Regions from separate parts of the Homo sapiens genome. Here region 2 is linked to region 1. Evidence: promoter capture Hi-C in 16 types of primary human blood cells and fetal thymus (Javierre and others, 2016). All regions are on one chromosome and are shown on one strand. The core of a region is centred on a gene start or on the middle of the fragment in contact, and the rest is flanking DNA. Distances in the headings are between cores, read along the strand shown.

Region 1 (4,994 bases), core at 224-2,723:
CTCTCTTTCCCCTGACCTTCCAGCGAGGCCTCCTTCTTCTTTCTTGCTTCTCTGCATCCAGGACCCCTCAAAAGGGCCTCCCTCGGTTGGGAGTGGTGGCTCACACCTGTAATCTCAGCACTTTGGGAGGCTGAGGTGGGCAGATCACCTGAGGTCGAGAGTTCGAGACCAGCACCTGAGGTCGAGAGTTCAAGACCAGCCTGGCCAACACAGTGAAACACTGTCTCTACTAAAAATACAAAAATTAGCTGGGTGTGGTAGTGGGCACCTGTAATCCCAGCTACTTGGGAGGCTGAGGCAGGAGAATCACTTGAACCCAGGAGGTGGAGGTTGCAGTGAGCCAAGATCAAGCCATTGCACTCCAGCCTGGGTGACAGAGTAAGACTCTGTCTCAAAAAAAAAAAAAATTAGCTGGGCATGGTGGTACGTGCCTGTAATCCCAGTTACTCGGGAGGCTGAGGCAGGAGAATTGCTTCAACCCAGGAGGTGGAGCTTGCAGTGAGCCGAGATCGCGCCATTGTACTCCAGCCTGGGCTGCAGAGCAAGACTCCGTCTCAAAAAAAAAAAAAAAAAAAAAAAAAGGGCCTCCCTCTCTGCCCCTGGCTGACTCCTGCCCTAAACCATATCCCTGTACCCGCCGGAAGGCCTGCTGCAGAACAGATACTCAAAAACCGCTGGCTGAACACATGGACGAGGGGAAGCGTGTGGCCACTGATAAGGGCCGCATTTTACCTGATGCAATGGGCCAAAGTGAAGTCGGTTTCACCCTGGACCCCAAAATGTCACCGTTCTTAGGAGGAATCTCAGCTCCTCCCCTGTCCTTGAGTTTTCCCCAACTGGGTTTTCTCCCCCACCATCAGCCCCAAGCGCCTCATGGCCCCGCTACCTCACTGCATTCAGGTCTTCGGGTCACTGCTCAGATGTCTCCACTCAGAGCTCTCCCCGCCCCCTTCCCTGGTGTTATTTTCTTTTATTTTGTGCTACAGAGGGAGCTAGGAATTACATTATTTTAAGTCATTTAAAGTCGTCCCTCCCCCCCGGCGGTGAGCTGGGCGGGACCAGGCTGTCTGTCTTGCTCAGGGCCAGCTGCACCCAGCGCAGAGCCACCCAGGCACACAGTAGGCGCCCAATAAAGACCTGTCCGGCATCTGGATACCTCAGTCTGTACAGTGAAGGTGAGGGTGGCCTGCACGCTCTCAAACCGGAGGCTGCTCGGGCCGGGATGAGGAGGGCACGGGCTCATTCATTCAATCAGCACTTATTGAGCGCCTTCTGTGTGCCTCGCGCTACCGGGCACCGGAGACGGGCCTCGGCTAACGTGCGGGTAGAGTCCAACAGACCCCCGGCCGCTCAGCGCCGCCCCGCCCCGCCGCCCCAGGTCCTCTCTCTGCCCGCACCTACCTCCCGGGGGCCCCTCGTCCGCCGACTGGCGCCGCTGCACGCCCAACGGCCGCGCAGTCTCGACCCCACAGACGCGGCCCGGAGAGGCCCCGCTCGGCGCGGCTGGTCCACGCCCCGCCCACGCCCCTGCCCATTGGCCTCCCCGAGACCCGCTGGCAGAACTTTCCATACTATTGGCTGCGAAACCTGCCACTCATATGCGACTCCACCTCTCCTACCGGCACAGGAAAGGGGTTTCCTCCCGCTGAGCGGCGGGCGCAGCCACCAAGCGGCCCCGGCGGGAAACCCGGATTGGCGAGGAACGGTTCCGGCAGGGTTGGGTTTCCAGAGCTGTCCAGGGGCGCCTGGTGCTGAATCCCGCTTGGAAAGAGGCTTGGAGGTGGATGGGAAGGGATTTCCAACGGAGGCGGCTCCTCTCTCAGCGTCCTCGCTGCTGATCCCCTTACCGACGGCTGAAGAAGCAGATTCATCCCTTCAACAAATCTCTGTTGATAGGCAGGAGGAGTAAGTCCAAGAGATCGACTGTACATCATGGTGGCTACAGCTCGTAACAATGCATTGCATACTGCAAAATTGCTAAGAAAGTAGATGTTACATGTTCAAACCATGAAAAAATAAGTATAGGAGGTAACGCGTAAGTTAAAAACCAAATCTTGGCAGGGCGCAGTGGCTCACACTTGTAATCTCAGCACTTTAAGAGACCGAGGCGGGAGGATCGCTTGAGTCCAGGAGTTCAAGGCCAGCCTGGGCAGCATAGTGAGACCCCATCTCTAAAAAAAAAAAAAAGGTTTTTTTTGAGACAGAGTCTCGCTCTTGTCACTCAGGCTGGAGTGCAATGGCGCGATCTTGGCTCACTGCAACTTCCGACTCCCGTGTTCAAGCGATTCTCCTGCCTCAGCCTCCCGAGTAGCTGGGATTATAGGCGTGTGCCACTATGCCGGCTAATTTTTGTGTTTTTAGTAGAGACGGGGTTTCACCATGTTGGCCAGGCTGGTCTTGAACTCCTGACCTCAGGTGATCCTCTTACCTTGGCCTCCCAAAGTGCTGGGATTACAGGCATGAGCCACTGCGCTTGGCCTGATGACTTGATTCTAACAAATAGAAAATGGCAAATGAATGGGATGTCATTCTGCGATTAGGCTATGAGAGATTGTGACTTCTGTTTTGCCAGCAGAGCCTGTCTCTCGCCTTCTCAGCCTACGTGTCTTGACAAAGCAAGCTAAGATGCTGGAGAGATCCAGAGGGAAAGGAACTGAGGGTGTCCTCCAGCCAACAGTCAGCAAGGCAATGAGACCCTCAGCACAAGCGTCCATAAGGAACCAAATGCTACCAACAGCCATGAACGTGATCATGGAAGAGGGTCCTGCCCCAGTTGAGCCTTTGGATGACTGCTTCACTTCAATTGCAGCCTTTGAAACACCCTAAAACAGGGCTGCATGTGGTAGCTCATGCCTATAATCCCAGCACTTTGGAAGGCCGAGGTAGGCAGGTCACTTAAAGTCAGGAGTTTGAGACTAGCCTGGCCAACACGGCAAAACCCCATCTCTACTAAAAATACCAAAATTAGCCAGGCATGGTGGCGGGCACCTGTAGTCCCAGCTACTAAGGAGGCTGAGGCATCAGAATCACTTGGACCCAGGAGGCAGAGGTGACAGCGAGCTGAAATCATTACCATTACACTCCAGCCTGGGCAACAGAGTGAGACCCTGTCTCAAAAGAAAAAAAAAGAAGAAGAAGAAGAAGAAAGAAAGAAAAACAAAGACCCTGAAAACAGAAGACCCATATGAACTGCATCTGAATTCCTCACCCACAGAAACTGAGATAACACATGCTGTTCTAGCCACTTAGTTTTGTGTTTGTTTGCTTGTATTTTGAGACAGGGTCCTGCCCCATCACCCAGGCTGGAGTGCAGTGGTGCAATCACAGCTCACTGCAGCCATGACCTCCTGGGCTCAAGCAGTCCTCCCACCTCAGCCTCCCGAGTAGCTGGGAGCATGTGCCACCATGCCCAGCTAATTTTTTACCTAATGTCACACAGGCCAGTCTTGAACTCCTGGATTCAGGAAACCCTCCCACCTCAGCCTCCCAAAGTGCTGAGATTACAGGCATGAGCCACAATGCCTGCTGGCACTAAGTTTGGGGGAAAATTTGTCATATGGCAGTAGGTAACTAATACACATACATACTAGAAAAACTATAGGTTGTACTAAGTTCTGTGAAGAAAGAATGAGAGAGACTTCTGTGCAGGAATTAGCCAAGTCAAATGTACTGAGAAGGCCAGGTGTGGTGGCTCACACCTATAATCCCAGCACTTTGGGAGGCTGAGGTGGGTGGATCACTTGAGGTCAGGAGTTCAAGACCAGCCTGGCCAACATGGTGAAACCCTGTCTGTACCAAAAATATAAAAATTAGCAGGGCGTGGTGGTGGGCGCCTGTAATCCCAGCTACTCGGGAGGCTGAGGTAGGAGAATCGCTTGAACCTGTGAGGTGGAGGTCGCAGTGAACCGAGATCATGCCACTGCACTCCAGCCTGGGCGACAGAGCAAGACTCCGTCTCAAAAAAAAAAAAAAAAAAGAAAAAAAAGTACTGAGAAGTGGGGAGAGAAGAGAGGATAGTTGACAAAAAGATGGAGAAGGGCTTGCTGCATTTGAGGAGTTGGAAAGCCAGCCTGGCTGAATGTTCGTGAGCAGTAGGGAGATGGGAGATTAGGGACAGTCCCATAGACCGTGCTATGGAACTTGGATTTTACCGTAATTACAGTGTGATTCATTGAAGGATTTTAAGTAGGTGAAGGTTGTCATCTAATTTTAATTCTTAAGATTATTTTGACTCGTGTGTAAAGAAAGGCTGAATTATAGAGAAGCAAGAATGGAAGCAGGGAGACTACTTCAGAGCCCTCTGGGCAAGAGTTGGGCTGGGTGCCTTGGCGCACACCTGTAATCCTAGCACATTGGGAAGCCATTGCAGGAAGATCGCTTGAGCCCAGGAGTTCGAGACCAGCCTGGGCAACATAGTGAGACCCTATCTCTATTTCTAAGAAAAGACTTGACGGTAGTTTAGCTGAGGGCATTGACAGGAGAAAGGACAGTGGGTGAATTTGAGAAATATTTTGGAGGGTGAATTGACAGGACTTAGCACTGGTTTGTCTGTGTGGGTTGCAGGAGAAGGAGGTGTTGGGGGTGACTTCTGGTTTTCTGCTTTGAGCCATCCGATGGATTCTGGTGCTCACTAAAATAGGAAAGACTGGAGGAGGCACAGAGATTGAAAGCGTCAAAAGACAGAGTTCAGTTTCACAGAGGCTATAAATGAGACATCTACAAGTTCTTAGCATTTAATGCCATTTTCTGCCTGCGTGGCGCTGATGTCATCATGTGGAACACACTGTTTCTGGTAGCTATTTTTATTATTAGATGCAGAGTGATCTGACTCTGTTTCTGCTTTCCATAACTCACGACAAGAAAAAGATGGCTTGTAACATAAGCACACCAGGTAGACGCCACAGGACGACTCCTTCCTAAGGGGAATTCATAGCATGCGATATTTATTCATAATTGTTTGGAGAATCAGCCTGCTCAGGGAAAGAGCTACGTAA
Region 2 (5,482 bases), core at 318-2,817, 480 kb before region 1:
TCACTGTACTCCAGCATGGAAGACAGAATGAGGCTCTGTCTCAAAAAATAATAATAAAAATATATAAAAATATAAAGAAAGCAGACAGGCTTGGAGACAGCTTTGCCCAAAGACACCCAGCATTTCAGTGGCAACGTGGGATTCGAACCTAGATCTGTGTGGCCCAGCACCTGTCTTCCTTGGGGGCTCCTTACAGACCCCTGAGGCAGAAATGAGGGCCAGGGGTTGAACATGGGGAGCACACTATAAGCCAGTCCAGTGTGGGAGGCTAAGAAGCTCTAGTCTCTGAAGATGGGCCTCCTGGCTCAAGGGGACCATCAGGGAAGGGCTTCCTCCCGCCAGCGCCACAAGGGTACCTGAAGCCCTGTCCTCCTGGGTCTCGGCCAGCGCAGAGTGGTCCTCCAGGGCCTGGCAGCTGCCCAGGCCGCCATCCAGCTCCTCCCAGGCTCTGGTTGTCATGGACATGGCTGGAGCAGCAGCAGGTCCCAGGCCAGGCTGGGAGGGGTGGGGAACAAGGTCTTGCATTTACTGAGTCTCTGCCACAGGCCTGGGCCTGACCTGGAGGTTCTGCGGACACCAACTAACAGGCCCCGTCCTCCCACCCCTCCTCACTCGGCAAATTCATACTCATGCCAGGCATGGCCCGGCGCCCACTCCAGGCATCTCTCTGACCCCGCATGCCTGCCCTGGGACCCCTCCCTACCGCCCAGCCTCACTGGGGTCCAGTATCCATCAGTACAGTAGCCCAGGCTGCTCTGGCCCAGAGAGGGCGGGAGCCCCTGCAGGACAACACAGCAATGAGTCCCAGACGCACCCCAAACCGAAACTCTTGGCCCCAGAGTCAGCTCATGTTCTCTGAGACCAGGGACTATTTTTATCTGGTGCCTGAGGCCAGCGGGACAGGCTAACAGGTGCCCCAGCCCCTCCCAGGCCTCTGCTCTCATGGGGTCTCCCTCTGGGCCACCCTGACTTGCCATTCTGGGCACCCACATCCTGCTGCGTGACCCTGTGAGTCTACAGGCTCAGGCCCCAGCAGCAGAACCATCCTGGCTCTGGTCGTGACAGGCCGGGGCAGGGGAGGAGGGTCCCGGTTGTGGTTGGGGGTCTTCTGATCCTGACACAGAGTACCCTGCCTTGTCCCACTAACTCTGTTCCCATAGGACAGATGAGGAAACCGAGGCTAGAGACAGTGCCATTGGCTGGAGGTCGCAAGGAGCTTCAAGTCAGACCCAAAGCTGTACTCTTCAGGGTCCCCATGGCCTCTGGCTGCTGGGATTAGGGTGTCCCTGTATCTAGGCTGAAAAACCACCCAGCCCTGGGGCTCCAAGACCTGGAAGGGGCCTATTGCGTGGCAGTGGGGGAGGGGCCCAAGAAGCATGGGAGGCTGGTGTGTGGCCCCTGGGTGTGCATGGGGGCAGCTCCAGGAATTGGGGACCCTTACAGTCCTCTGCAACACCCCTTCACACCCCGGGAGCCCACACCTCTGCCCGGGATTCCCCCAGCCTCACTTCCTTACCCCCGAGCCTCGCTTACCCGCCAGCCGCTTTGCTGAGCCTTGTGGACAGGACGGAGGATGGGGAGGGTGGCCCCGTGATGGACGGCAACAGGTGGCCAGAGACCGCGGGTGGGCCAATCAGCATGCCCGCTGGAGTGAGGTCACAGCCGGGGAGTCCCCCACCCTTCCCTGCCATTGCAGCAGGGCAGGGCATTGCTCCTACTCAGCACTCGCCACTGCCACCCAGGGAGACGTAGCGCCTGCAGCTGGGACTACAGGCGCGCACCATCACACCCGGTAAGTTTTCAATTTTTTTTGAGACGGAGTCTCGCTCTGTCTCCCAGGCTGGAGTGCGGTGGCGCGATCTCCACTCACTGCAAGCTCCGCCTCCCGGGTTCACGCCATTCCCGTGCCTCAGCCTCCCGAGTAGCTGGGACTACAGGCGCCCGCCACCGCGCCCGGCTAATTTTTTTTGTATTTTTAGTAGAGATGGGGTTTCACCGTGTTAGCCAGGATGGTCTCGGTCTCCTGACCTCGGAATCCGCCCACCTTGGCCTCCCAAATTGCTGGAATTACAGGCGTGAGCCACTGCACCCGGACTAATTTTTGTATTTTTTTTTCAGTAGAGACAGGGTTTCCCTATGTTGGCCAGGCTGCTCTCGAACTCCTGACCGCAAGTAATCCATGTGATCCGCTCGCCTTGGCCACCCAAAGTGCTGGGATCCCAGGCGGGAGCCCCTGCAATGCATTCATTCCTGCTGTTTAAAGCCACTGTATTTGGGGTCATTTGTTTCTGTGGCTCTGGCAGGCTCATACACTCGGAACTGCCTGCTCCCACACCGTCATGCAGAGAAACCTGACGCCTCTGCTCTGGAGAGGACCCGGGGTCTCTCAGCCCCCAAAGGCACATTCTAAGGCCTGCAGGCAGATGTTTGAGCCCTACCTGCAAAGCATGGTGACTCTGGGAGTCCTGAGGGAAGAGGGGAAGTGGATTTTGGTGGTGAGGCCTGTGTGTTAAAAATCCTGAGTGAATGGCCGGGCGCGGTGGCTCACGCCTGTAATCCCAGCACTGTGGGAGGCTGAGGCGGGCGGATCGCCTGAGGTCGGGAGTTTGACACCAGCCTGGCCAACATGGTGAAATCTTGTCTCTATTAAAAATACAAAAATTAGTGAGGCGTGATAGTGGATGCCTGTAATCCCAGCTACTGGGGAGGCTGAGGCAGGAGAATTGCTTGAACCCGGGAGGTGGAGGTTGCAGTGAGCCGAGATCACATCATTGCACTCCAGCCTGGGCGACAGAGTGAGACTCTGTCTCAAATAATAATAATAATTCTGAGTGAATAGGGCCTCCCCAGGAACTACCAAGAGACCCAGAAGGCCAGCCCGCCTTCAGCAAAGCAAGGGCTGGGGTTCCCTGGTCCCCACTCCCTCCGCTTTAGAAACGGCTCTCGGCCGGGCGCGGTGGCTCACGCCTGTAATCCCAGCACTTTGGGAGGCCAAGGCAGGTGGATCACAAGGTCAGGAGATTGAGACCCTCCTGGCTAACACGGTGAAACCCCGTCTCTACTAAAAATACAAAAAATTAGCTGAGTGTCGTGGCGGGCGCCTGTAGTCCCAGCTACTCGGGAGGCTGAGGCAGGAGAATGGCGTGAACCCGGGAGGCAGAGTTTGCAGTGAGCCGAGATGGCACCACTGCACTCCAGCCTGGGCGACAGAGCGAGACTCTGTCTCAAAAAGAAAAAAAAAAAGAAATGGCTCTCATTTTTTTCTGTATGACACAAGGCAGAGACAAACAGGAAACAAAGAGAAGCTGAAAGCAAAAACTGTAAAGCACCTGTCATCTTCCCGCCCCCAAACAGACACTGTTTAATAGTTTGACATGTTCTTTCCGCTGTTTGTAACTTGTGATTTTATTATTAGTTCCATATTTATTTTTATAAAGCTGGCATAATTAGCGAAGGGCTGAACATCTTGTTTGTAACCTAGATTTATTTTTTCTTCCTAAAAGTTTTTTTGTTGTTGTTGAGATGGAGTCTCTCTCTGTCACCCAGGCTGGAGTGCAATGGCGCGATCTCGGCTCACTGCAACCTCTGCCTCCTGGGTTCAAGCGATTCTCCTGCCTCAGCCTCCCGAGGACCTAGGATTACAGGCATGCACCACTGCGCCTGGCTAATTTTCATATTTTTAGCAGAGATGGGGTTTCACCATGTTAATCAGGCTGGTCTCAAACTCCTGACCTCAGGCGATCTGCCCACTCTGGCCTCCTGAAGTGTTGGGATTACAGGCGTGAGCCACAGTGCTTGGCCCCTCCTAAAAGTATATTACAGCTTGGCAGTTCCTCAAAAAGCTAAAATAGAATGACCATAAGATGCAGAAACTCTACTCCTAGGTATCTACGAAAAGGAATCCGAAGCTTGGACTCAGATATTTGCACACCCAAGTTCAGGGCAGCACGATTCTCCGCAGCCACATGGTGTAGGCAGCTCTAGCGTTCCATCCTCAGATACACGGATCAACACAGCGTGGCCCTTCCACACGGTGAAGTACGACACAGCCGTGAACAGGAACGAGGCTCTGACTGCGGCCATGGCGTGAATGCACTTTAAGGATGTCACGCTCGGTGAGAGGTGCCAGACACAGAAGGCCATGCTGTATGTGATCCCATTTCTATGAAATGTCCAGGACAGGGCCGGGTACAGTGGCTCATGCCTGTAATCCCAGCACTTTGGGAGGCCAAGGTGGGTGGATCACGAGGTCAGGAGATCGAGACCATCCTGGCTAACACGGTGAAACCCCGTCTCTACTAAAAATACAAAAAATCAGCCGGGCGTGGTGGCGGGCGCCTGTAGTCCCAGCTACTTGGGAGGCTGAGGCAGGAGAATGGCGTGAACCCGGGAGGCGGAGCTTGCAGTGAGCTGAGATCACGCCACTGCACTCCAGCCCGGGCGACAGAGCGAGACTCCGTCTCAAAAAAAAAAAAAAAAAAAAAAAGAAATGTCCAGGACAGGCCAATTCACAGAGACAGGAAGGGGATTTGTGGGTGCCGGGGCTGGGAAGGGGATGGGGAGTGATGGCTGATGGGGATGGAGCTTCATTTAGGGTGACAAGAATGTTCTGGAATAAGACAGGGGTGGTGGTTGCTGAGTCATTTCACTTAGGATGATGATCTCCAGCTCCATCCATGTTGCTGCAAAATATGATTTCATTTGTTTGTTTTTTGAGACAGGCTCTCATCTCCGTCACCCAGGCTGGCATGCGTTGGCGCAATCAGGGCTCACTACAGCCTCAGCCTCTTCAGCTCAGGTGGTCATCCCACCTCAGCCTCCTGAGTAGCTGGGACCACAGGTGCCTGACACCACACGCAGCTAATTTTTTATTTTCTATTTATGAGACAGAGTCTCACTCTGTGGCCCAGGCTCCAGTGCAGTGGGGCCATCTCTGCTCATTGCAACCTCTGCCTCCCAGGCTCAAGCGATTCTCCTGCCTCAGTCTCCTGAGGAGCTGGGATTACAGGCATATGCCACCATGCCCAGCTAATTTTTTTTTTTTTTTGAGATGGAGTTTCGCTCTTGTCACCCAGACTGGAGTGCAGTGGCACAATCTCGGCTCTCTGCAACCTCTGCCTCCCGGGTTCAAGTGATTCTCCTGCCCCAGCCTCCCAAGTAGCTGCGATTACAGGTGCCTGCCACCACATCCAGCTAATTTTTGTATTTTTAGTAGTGACAGCGTTTTGCCATGTCGACCAGGCTGGTCTCAAACTCCTGACCTCAGGTGATCCACCTGCCTCGGCCTCCCAAAGTGCTGAGATTACAGGCGTGAGCCACTGCGCCCAGCTGCTAATTTTTGCATTTTTAGTAGAGATGGTGTTTCACCATGTTGCCCAGGCTGGTCTCGAACTCCTGGGCTCAAGTGATCCACCGGCCCTGGCCTCCTGAAATGCTGGGATTACAGGTGTGAGCCACCACGCCCTGTCTCTATGCTTAACTT

The links. Contacts are between HindIII fragments. The CHiCAGO score rates a contact against its expected background, and 5 or more counts as called.
Region 2: the fragment with the promoter of JSRP1 here is called in contact with the fragment with the promoter of SLC39A3 in region 1 in 3 of 17 cell types (total B cells, naive B cells and fetal thymus); the score reaches 5.6 in total B cells.

What each region holds. Positions count from the first base shown.
Region 1 is chr19:2,738,544-2,743,537 of GRCh38, forward strand. It overlaps SLC39A3 (solute carrier family 39 member 3), which reads right to left and starts at 1,474. Exons shown (of 3, transcript NM_144564.5): 1 at 1,402-1,474. RefSeq lists silencers at 570-837, 1,246-1,645 and enhancers at 956-1,005, 1,706-1,755. The HindIII fragment of the contact is 5,051 bases long and covers 1-4,993 here.
Region 2 is chr19:2,254,850-2,260,331 of GRCh38, forward strand. It overlaps JSRP1 (junctional sarcoplasmic reticulum protein 1), which reads right to left and starts at 1,568. Exons shown (of 7, transcript NM_144616.4): 1 at 1,534-1,568; 2 at 357-495. The coding sequence starts at 465. RefSeq lists an enhancer at 1,243-1,322. The HindIII fragment of the contact is 8,991 bases long and covers 1-3,906 here.